2 separate regions of the Homo sapiens genome follow, and region 1 is linked to region 2. The links are contacts of gene promoters, found by promoter capture Hi-C in human tissues and cell types (Jung and others, 2019). All regions are on one chromosome and are shown on one strand. The core of a region is centred on a gene start or on the middle of the fragment in contact, and the rest is flanking DNA. Distances in the headings are between cores, read along the strand shown. Region 1 has its middle 43 kb from the start of ACTC1. Region 2 holds the start of ACTC1 (actin alpha cardiac muscle 1).

Region 1 (5,480 bases), core at 2,729-5,228, 44 kb after region 2:
ATAAAAAAAAAAAAGCAACTAGAATAGCCAAAGCTATCCTGAGTAAAAGGAAGAAAACTGGAGGAATCATGTTACCTGACTTCAAAGTATACTGCAGACTATGGTAACCAAAACAGCATGGTACTGACATAAAAACAGACACATAGACCAATAGAACAGAATAGAAAACCCAGAAACAAATCCACATACCTACAGTGAACTCATTTTTGACAAAGTTGCCAAGAATGTACATTGGGGAAAAGACAGTCTCTTTAATAATTGATGCTGGGAAAACTGGATATCGATATTCAGAAGAATGAAGCTGGATCCCTATCTCTCACCTTATATAAAAATCAAATAAATTTGGATTAAAGACTTAAATCTAAGACCTCAAACTATGAAACTACTACAAGAAAACACTGGGGAAACTCTCCAAGACATTAGTCTGGGCAAAAATATCTTGAGTAATACCCCCCAAGCACAGGCAACCCCTAAATTGGTTTCCTCTTACCTTTTCTAGAGATGATGGTGATGACAGCAGTCTACCAATGTTTTTGCATTTCTCTGGCTCTCCAGATATGGTAATGAATGAATGAATAAATAAATAATTTTAAATGCCTGGGAAAAGCAAAGATACCCTAGCATAAATTTCCTATCTTTAAGATTTTGGGCCAGGCATAGTGGCTCACGCCTGTAATCCCAGCACTGTGGGAGGCCGAGGTGGGCGGATTACCTGAAGTCAGGAGTTTGAGACCAGCCTGGCTAACATGGCGAAACCCCGTCTCTACTAAAAGTACAAAAATTAGTTTGGCATGGTGGCATGTGCCTGTAGTCCCAGCTACTCGGGAAGCTGAGGCAGGAGAATCACTTGAACCTGGGAGGCAGAGGTTGCAGTGAGCCAATATCACTCTAATGCACTCCAGCCTGGGTGACAGAGCGAGACTCAAAAAAAAAAAAAGAAAAAGAAAAAAAATGGATTTGTCTGTGCACATTGCCACATTCAGGTAAGTGAGAGTTTGGAGCTCACTAGGTAATGATTAATGCCGACCCCAAGCAACATATACAGCTGCAGGACGGCCAGCATCCTTCAGAAGCTCCACACAAATGGATACATGATTGGTAAACTTCCCCTGCTGAGTTGTTAAGTGGGGCCATGCTAGCTTCCCAGACTTGAAAAGAAATGAAAAGGACAACCTCCTAGGACAGTTAGGCCACCACACCAAGAAGGTGGCCTTAGCTCATAAGCTTTCTTATGGTTCCCCTCCACACGTAAACATCTCTGTCAATATCCACACCTCCTTCCTCCAAGTGGTCAGATTTTAGATGTCTTAGTGACCCCACAATGGCAAAGTTTTTCTTTGTTCAATGATCCAGGCAAGATTTAATCACAGCATCTTGGAGCTGGAATGGCCCTTAAAAATCTGATCAAATCAAGGCTGCTGGGATTCAGACTTTGTGCCTCCTGGCTTCTCAGTCTACAATGCTATTGAACACCTTCTCTATTCAAGAAGAAGGAGGAAAACATTTCATTTGGGCCTCGGTGAAAGTGACAAGGAAAAGAGAGGTGAGAATTGACTCTCTGCCCCATTGAGTAATGGTAAGTGGAGGAGAAAACAGGCCAGTGAAGACAAGGGGACTGGAATGGATTTGGGGAGCGCAGGGAAAAGCTTAAAACCTATGACTAGGGAAGGTTGCAGTGAACGTTGATAAGAAGCAGACAGGAACCCATGGAAGAGTCCAGGCCATGAGTCAGAAGCAGGAGAGGCTTTTGAGCAGTCACAGTCCAGCAAGCACCACCTTAACGGTAGGCAGCTACTGTGCAGATGCCTGCCTGAGCCTCCCTCTTGGCCAGAGGCAGTCACAGCTGAGTGGTGAGTCAGCACCAAGCAGTCATTCATCCTTTTTTGAAGCCAAGACTCTAGTCATTTCTGAAAAAATAATAAATACAAAAGGATCAAGGAGAAACTGTTTTTATTTTTCCTTCATAACAAATGTAAGTGGACCCATTATATGTTTTACTAATAAAAGCAGCCACGTCTTAAGAGCACCATGGATGCTACATTAATAAATTTCGTCCATCATTGATGCTGCCAGTGGTGCCAAAGGATAGATGTTGTTTGCCCAGCAGTGACATTTGAGGATCTGTCAATGTAACACTGTCCACCAGAAAAACATTTCCAAAAGCCAAGTGAGGACTTTCACTCATTTAAGAGGCCAGAGTGAGCCAGCTCACCATCACATGTATTTCAGTAATAGACAAAAATAAATTCTGTGCAACCAATTGTTTCAGCAGGTCCTTCTCCACATCCCCAGAGCCTCTGTCTTATTTCCTAGTAGCACATACCAGCCTCTCCCGTTCCACTAAACCCAGAGTCCACCCTTCTGGGCAGCACTTCCATGCATGAGCCAGTCACAGTATAGACCCTGTACTCAAATATCCCAATTCAAATCCTGCTTCCACCACTTACCAGCCATGTAAAACTTTGGCATGTTTCTTAATTTCCTTAAGAAATTTAAGCTTCAATTTCCTCATTTGTATAACAGAAAATATTATAGTACCGTGGGGTTTGCATCAAATGTAATCATTTGTATAAAACACATATCACAGTATCTGATGCATAAGTGCTCAGTAAATATCATCACTATCACTATCATCAACATCACCACCACCACCATCACCATAATCATCACCATCACCATCACCATCATTACATTATTGTCACCACCACCATCATCATCACTACCACAATCACCATCATAATCACAACTACCAACACCATCACTGTCATCATCACCACCCTCACCATCATCACCATCTCCATCATTACCATCTCCATCACCATCATCATCATCATCATCACAATCACCCTCACCGCCACCACCATCCTCATCATTATCACCACCCTCACCCTCACCTTCACCATCGTCATCACCATCATGATCACCATCATGATTACCTTCAGCATCATTATCGGCAGCAATAGCAACAGTGGCATCTCAGGTCTTTTCCCCACTCAGGCTATGCCTGTTCTGTGTCTTCCTCCCTCAGCGCGCTGTTCTCCAGCACTGGTCTGCTAAACCAATGTGTGCCAAAAGCAGAGGATTTGGACAATGCCAGGACTGAGAAGGAACATGTTTGACCAGATCTTTTAGAACATTTCAAACCACACAAAGCAGGTGAAAGGCTGGTCCCTATTTATTATACTATGGTTCTATCCAAATGGAAGGGTGCAATGCCTGGCAAGGGCATCCTAAAAATTTTTGGCCAAATAAATAATATCTGAAACTTTTTGGACAAGCAAACCAAGGCATATGCCTCTTGTTCATATCAAGTGGTTTCTAAGCTGCTTCAAACAGGAAATCTACTCTTGAATCCAGTCTTGTGTGGGAGACAAGAACATCCACAAGCAACTAACTGTACTATCACGGGGTAATGCTACCAGCCAGATGATAACAGTAATAAAAATGGTAATGATAGCTACTATTTATTGAGTCCAACTATATGTCTTGCATTATACTGGTCAATTCCCATATCTCAACATATTTAGTCTTTATAACAACTCTTCACAGATGCTATCATGACCCCAATCATGCAGATGAGGGAACTATAGCAATGTGGTCAAAGATCACCCAGTTAGCAAGTGGCAAAGCTACTTCAGTTATTTTTGAGTTACATCCATCTAACTCCAAAACTACTAATCCACACTGGGTGGCTGGAAGGCTGAGAGAGGCAGTCATGGGAGAGCACAGCTGAGGAGTGACTGATTTCATAAGAAAGGGAGGTGGGAAAATCTTCACAGAGGGGATGAATTTGACCTTGTAGAAGGAGTTTGCTAGGCCAGCAAGAAAGGGCTTTTTAGCAAAGGAAGCCATGTGAACAACCATACGGAAACATCCTGGATTTGGGGACCAGGGAGGGATGCACACAGCGTGATAGGAGCACAGAGCACATGAAATGAGGCCAACATCTTACAGCCTGATCCCTCTGGGTTGACTATTGTGTCCCAGCACCGGCACAACCTCCTCATTTCTTTTGCAGCTGGTAGGGCATACGATGTTGCCTTGACCCATTACATTTTCCAATCTCTTCTTGTTCTCCTTGACTCCAGATGCTGTGACACCCAACATGTAATACTGCCCTGTTGGGACTGGTCCCTGGCTTCCTTTCCCCATCATCATTAATTCCTCCAAATAGTCTACTTCCTGTCACTCAGAACAATCAGCTCATAGAATCTAGCTTAAGACAGAGGACATTTTCCAAGTGCTGTCTTGAGCCCCCAAAATGGGCTTAGACATTACCTTCTAGGCCAGAGGTTCCTAACTGCAGATACAGAGAGGGGCTCCATAGATTCACAAACCATTAGAATACACGCAAAAGTATTGTAGCTGAAGTTTTAAGGGAAAATGAAGCTCTCATTAGAGTCTCAAAAGGAAAGGAAACCTGGCTTTTCCAAAAGATTAAAAATGATATCAGTGCTGGGCTGTTCAATATCATATGTAGCCACTAGCTACGTGCAACCATTTAAATTATCTAAAATTAAATAAAATTTAAAATTCAATTTCTCAGTCTCACTAGCCACATTTCAAATGCACATGTGGACACTGAACAGCACAGATTCCAGAACATTTCCGTCTTTGCAGAAAGTCCGATTGGAAAGTGCTAGCGTAGATAACGGGGAGCCGTCAAGGATGCTGAAGAGGGGAATAACATGATGAGCTACGTAATTGGAGAGGCCAACTGTAGCAGCAAAATGGAGGGCAGATTTGGGAGGGAAAAGCCATAGTCAGGGAAGGCAACTGGGAGGAATTGATTGTGGTAGCAGTGGGAATGGAGAGGAGGTCACAATTTTGAGGAATGTTTCAGAGCACTTGAGGAAAGACTGAGTCAGGGGATAGAGGCAGAAAAAGAAGACAAAGACAACTCGAAGCTTTCTTATTTGAACAGTAGAAAATGCTTTCTACAGAGCTCCTGTCTGGCCTCCTCTCTTGCCACTGCTCCCTTCATTCACCTTGAACACCCTGGGCCAGGTCCTGTGTCAGGGCCCTCAAGGTGCCATTCCCTCTGCCTGGAATACTCTTACTCTAGGTCTCCAGATGTCTCCCTCCCTCACCTCCTGCAAGTGTTCATTCATTGGTGCCTTTCCTCGTAAGCGTGAGTACTAGGTGCTGAGGAGACAGTGAGCATTGCGAAGCAGATGTGAGGGGTGGGTGAGGAAGACGATGAGTCCTTCTGAGTGTGCTGAGTTTGAGGGGGTCCAATAAAATGCTGGTTGTAGGTCAGCTGATCAGTATCAGTGACACGTGTTCATCGAAGAAGGGCAGACTGTGTGCTGACAGGCCTGGCCCGGAGCAGACTTGGGAAACAGGCAACGCTGCTGTCTCACCCCAGGTACCCAAGGCCTTCTAGTACCCTCTATCTTTTCAAATCTTCTCCCAGGAAATGTCCTGATACACTTATTAATACTAAGTCCTAAAACACTAATATGGGCAATGTTAGCCAA
Region 2 (4,976 bases), core at 2,413-4,912:
GTGTGTCATCCTTTATTATATCACTAGAGCAGAACATAGACTTCCCCTTTAATGAGCCATCAGGACTTGAGGTTGAGCTGTGTGGGAATCCAAACTATGACTTCTTTTAACTCAAGGGCTTCTTGAGCCTTCTAGATTTTACTCTGGGAGACCCTAAGATTTCCAGGGAAAATCGTGCCTCTGCACCAGACCCTACAACTCACCAATGAAGGAGGGCTGGAAGAGTGTCTCAGGACAGCGGAAGCGCTCATTGCCAATAGTGATGACTTGGCCATCAGGCAGTTCATAGCTCTTCTCCAGGGAGGAGGAAGAGGCAGCTGTGGCCATCTCATTCTCAAAATCCAGGGCGACATAGCACAGCTTCTCTTTAATGTCACGGACAATTTCACGTTCAGCTACAGAAATAAAGAGTATCACAGTCATGCTCTGAAGCAAGAAGTCAATTATAGGGAGGTAGGCGGATTCAGTGAGAGAGGAGGAAAGCAGACCCACACTGTGGCAGATGAGACACACACACTCACCAGTGGTGACAAAGGAGTAGCCACGCTCAGTGAGGATCTTCATGAGGTAGTCAGTGAGGTCCCGACCAGCCAGATCCAGACGCATGATGGCATGGGGCAAAGCGTAGCCCTCATAGATGGGGACATTGTGAGTTACACCATCCCCAGAGTCCAGAACAATGCCTGCCCGGGGAAGTAGACAAGAACAAGGTAAATTCCTGAGGACAACACCACTGCTCTAGCCACGGCAAAGCCCGCTTCCAATCTTGGCTAAGAGATGCTAGCAATGGGCATTGATCCAGATAAAATTAGATTCCTTACACACAAAGAATAAAAATGCGCATCAGGAATACTAAATCTGAAGCAAACTGCAGCTCATCTTTTTAACTATTATAGTAGAAAAAATTCCCGAGGACACTTTCAAATGACCATCTTTCTTGTCAGCCACGAGCACATTATGTAAGCACCCAAGGGTGTTTTTCTTTGCTCCTATTGAACTTACACGTTTCTCTCTCTTTTGACTCAGACCCTGTATGGAATGTATTCTCCTTGGGGATGCTTGCCCAGGTGATGTGATGGTTTAAACACATAACAATGACTGCTGCACTCCAAGCTGCTACACTGCGCTGAGCTTTAAATGAGGGAAGGACCTATCTCCACAAGCTATCAGCTCCAACAATAATTGTGCTCCGAAACTAACCTCAGGGCACTACTGTTAACTCTTTCTCTTAGCACAGACCTTGCTAGGGAATGGGAGGAAAGGGATTATCCCTTTTTCAACTGGGGGATCTGATTCACAGCAAGGTCGGTGACTTGGGAATGTGATTCATCAGTAACTGTCCCCAGAGCCCAGCATACCTGTGGTACGGCCAGAAGCATACAGGGATAGCACTGCCTGGATGGCCACGTACATGGCAGGGACATTGAAGGTCTCAAACATGATCTGAGTCATCTTCTCCCGGTTGGCCTTGGGGTTCAGCGGGGCCTCTGTGAGCAGGGTGGGGTGCTCCTCGGGAGCCACACGGAGCTCATTGTAGAAGGTGTGGTGCCAGATCTTCTCCATGTCGTCCCAGTTGGTGATGATACCATGCTCGATGGGATACTTCAGGGTCAGGATGCCTCTCTTGCTCTGGGCTTCATCACCTACGTAGGAGTCCTTCTGACCCATACCCACCATAACTCCCTATGAGAAGAAAAAATGAGAAAATCATGCTCTCACCATGTCAGGAATATAATCAGTGTCTTGTCCATTTATATCTAACTGCCCAAGTCAAGGAACATATTTAAATACCAGAAATAACAAGCAATACGATTTTACCCCAATTTAGAAGAATTATTTAAAAATCAATCTTCTACCTTCTCCCCACTCCCCCAAAGATGTATAATTCTATTGTTGAGAATATAACTCAGGAGAGAATGAAGCTATTCCACTGAAGAAGCAGAGCCTCACCTCACCTTAAAAATATCATATGCCTTCATTAAGTTATTAAGCTCATCACCCATGTCAACTGGAATATAGATGACTGCATTTTGGAATGACTGAATTAATGACACATTGTATTTCTCCTAAGAAAAAGATTTTGACATTCAAGTGAACACATAATGATGGGCTGATATGCCATCCTCACTCCAACAGTGAAATTCAGCCTGTCCAGAGCTGTTCTGGAGTCATTCACCAGCTCTGAGGACTAAGCTCTCCTGCTTGGCAGCCTGTCTGGCCAGGCATGTGACAAACCCAGAGAGCATGGCATGTCTTTTAACAAACGAGGTGGTATGTCACTATCACCATGGCACTTGCTGCCTCTGTCACGCCTGGCTTCTAAAAATGCAACAGCCAGGAAGGAGATAGATTGATTACACCTTTGGGGAACCCTGTAAACTGGCTGTGAACATGAGAGAGGAATGTGGATTTGGTCCTGGTTGGTTGGGAGAGGTGATATTGTTAGAAGTTTTAAACAGGACTGAAAAGAGAGGACAAGGAAGAAAATGAAGTGTATAAGGCAGAGAAGACACTAAAGACTAAAAGTCCAAAAGGCCATTAGTGGAGAGAAGCAGGTGGCTTTCACACCAGGGAGTGGGACCCTTTTAGAGGCGTGCCACTCAGGTGTACATTCCTCAGTATGTTGGGGTTTTGTGGAGTATTGCTTGCCTTGGCTTGGATTTGAAGTCAATCAGCCTTCTCTTAATTTGGCCTAAAGAGTTCATCGAACAAGAGGGTCAGGTGAGAGCCATTTCCTAGATCGCTGGACTGAAGGGGTCCCGAGTGGGACGGGGGGCTCGGCGGGAAGTTTACCTGGTGCCGCGGGCGGCCCACGATGGACGGGAAGACAGCGCGGGGCGCGTCATCGCCCGCAAAGCCGGCCTTCACCAGCCCAGAGCCGTTGTCGCACACCAGGGCGGTGGTCTCCTCGTCGTCACACATCTTGGCACAGCTTCAGGGGGTTCTGCAGGTTGAGGAGGGGAGGGCGGACCACGCTTAGCTGCCTGTGCAGCTGGCCTTCTCCGCACCCAGAGGACAGGACAGAGCAGAAGGGGGTTGTGGGGACTGGACAGGGGGTTGGGCGGGGAACACTCCTGCCACCTCCCTTCCCCTCGAATCATAAAAGGGAGGGAAGAAGCCGCGGAGGAGACTGGGGACAGAGAAGGGCAGAGGAATCCACCCAGGCTCCCTGGCCAGGAGTTCCAGCTAGGGTGCCAGGTGCAAGGAGGGACCCAAGAAACCCAGCCCCTTAGTCCTCCCCAGCCCTTTAACTTTCTTCCTTTTCACGAACTGGGAACTCGATCTCCAGCCCTGTCCATATCGCCATGCCTGTGCCCCAGATGGAGGGGAAAGCGCACGAGAGTAGGGACCCAAAAGCCCCTTGGGGAGCCACAAAATTCCCCTTCTTAGAGCCCCTGCGAGGTCCTGCGAGGACCAACGCCCAGGACAAAACAAGTTAGAACCAAATCAAAAAGTGTGGGCTTTAAAAAAAAAAAAAAAAAGGCAGTCGCAGAGCGGCAGGAGCTGGGGCCTTGGCTGAATGCGGGCCGGGCTGGCCAGGTGGCGGCGCGGGGCTGGCGTCCGGCGCGGCCCGCGGACCAGGCGAGGAGTGAACGCGGAGGGCCGGGCGCTGACTCACCGTCGGCGGGGCGGGTCGGCTCGGCTCCGGCGGCAGCGGGCTCTGGGTGGCTGGCTCCAGGAGGGCCGCTTTATAGAACGCTGATGGACAGGGTCAGTTGGAGCAGCCGGGGGCAGGGGTGGGGGGCCCGGTCTGCCACCTTGCCTTATTTGGTCCCCTTCGCACCCGCTAGGACTGCCGAGGCCATTCATGGAGCCAAGGGCAGGGGAGAGGATCAGCCAGGGAGCCCCCAGACCATGTAAGGAAGGGGAGGGGGCAGTCAGGGGGATGGCCAAATAGGGAGCTGGGGAGGGGCAGGCGCTGAAGGGTAGGGGGCAGGGGAAGACTAAGTGACGCCAGCCCACCCCTCCCCCTTTCTGGGGTGTGGGTGCTCCCTGGATGGTCTGTGGATTCGGTCCTCCGCAGCCCTGCCAGCCTTGGGGACAATAAGCCACATGCAGTGGGAAGGCTTGGCGCCCTGCCCTCTGCTGAGGGGTCCTGACAGCTGGGCCAGGGCAGCAGGGGAGCAACAGCGGCTTCTCATCTTCCAGGGCTGCCACCAGCACAAAGGACACCGCAGCAGCACATCTGAGTGGCTGCAAAAGGGGCACCCAGGACAGGGCACCCTTCTGGTCTAGTCCCCGCCAGCCTGAATGGCTTTACTCAGAGAGCTGGTGCTGGGCTCATCTAGGTCAGAAAGCTGAGATTAACCAAGGCCACCCGAGTTCCAACCCATGCATGGATCAGGGTCTGGCCAGGGAAGAGTCAGAAAAGGGTTTCTGTGAGAGCTTGGCCAAGTCTTGCTGGAGAAGGGACCAGGTTTACCCCAGCCCAGTTATTGGGTAGCCCTCATCCATGCTGCAGGGTTTTGCTCAAATTCAGACTCTGGTCTTCAGGCCAGAAAAGGATCCCCTGCTGCCAAAGTGAATAAAGGAACAAATGCCAAAAGTAGCTTGCCCACTTGATGGTGGGGAGATGAGCATCTTTAAACTGGGGGCAGAGGCCCTCACTCCAGGTGGAGACAAGACTGCAAAGGCAAATACTTTGATGGAGAACATAGCAACAACTTAAACTATAGGACTACACCAATCCTTGCTACTCAAAGTGCAGCCCATGGACAAGCAGTATTGTCATAACCTGGAAATGAGCTAGAAATGCAATCTCAAGAGCCATCCCAATCCGCTTTTCAGCAAGATCCTCATTTGCTTGGTATGTACATTAAAGTGTGAGAAGCATTGGCATAAATGACAGATATCATCTCCTCTGTGGAAAACAGATTTTGCAGGATCTTGAACTTTTGAGAAGGAAAAAGAAAAATGACATGAAATGAGGAGAGGGAGAAGGAAGAGGGAGATGTAAGAAGGACACAGATCACTAG

What was found. Contacts are between HindIII fragments. The study calls those that stand out against the background at their distance.
Region 1: a contact is called between a fragment that was not itself captured here and the fragment with the promoter of ACTC1 in region 2, in 2 of the 25 tissues and cell types used here (H1 embryonic stem cells and mesenchymal stem cells).

Annotation. Positions count from the first base shown.
Region 1 is chr15:34,835,659-34,841,138 of GRCh38, forward strand. No RefSeq gene overlaps it. Among named protein-coding and RNA genes, the nearest start is that of ACTC1, 43 kb to the left of the region's middle. The HindIII fragment of the contact is 5,086 bases long and covers 1,436-5,480 here.
Region 2 is chr15:34,791,887-34,796,862 of GRCh38, forward strand. ACTC1 (actin alpha cardiac muscle 1) reads right to left here and starts at 3,663. Exons shown (of 7, transcript NM_005159.5): 1 at 3,620-3,663; 2 at 2,794-2,944; 3 at 1,359-1,683; 4 at 522-683; 5 at 204-395. The coding sequence starts at 2,922. The region is part of intron 2 of GJD2-DT (GJD2 divergent transcript); the gene reads left to right. RefSeq lists an enhancer at 4,810-4,976. The HindIII fragment of the contact is 17,333 bases long and covers 1-4,976 here.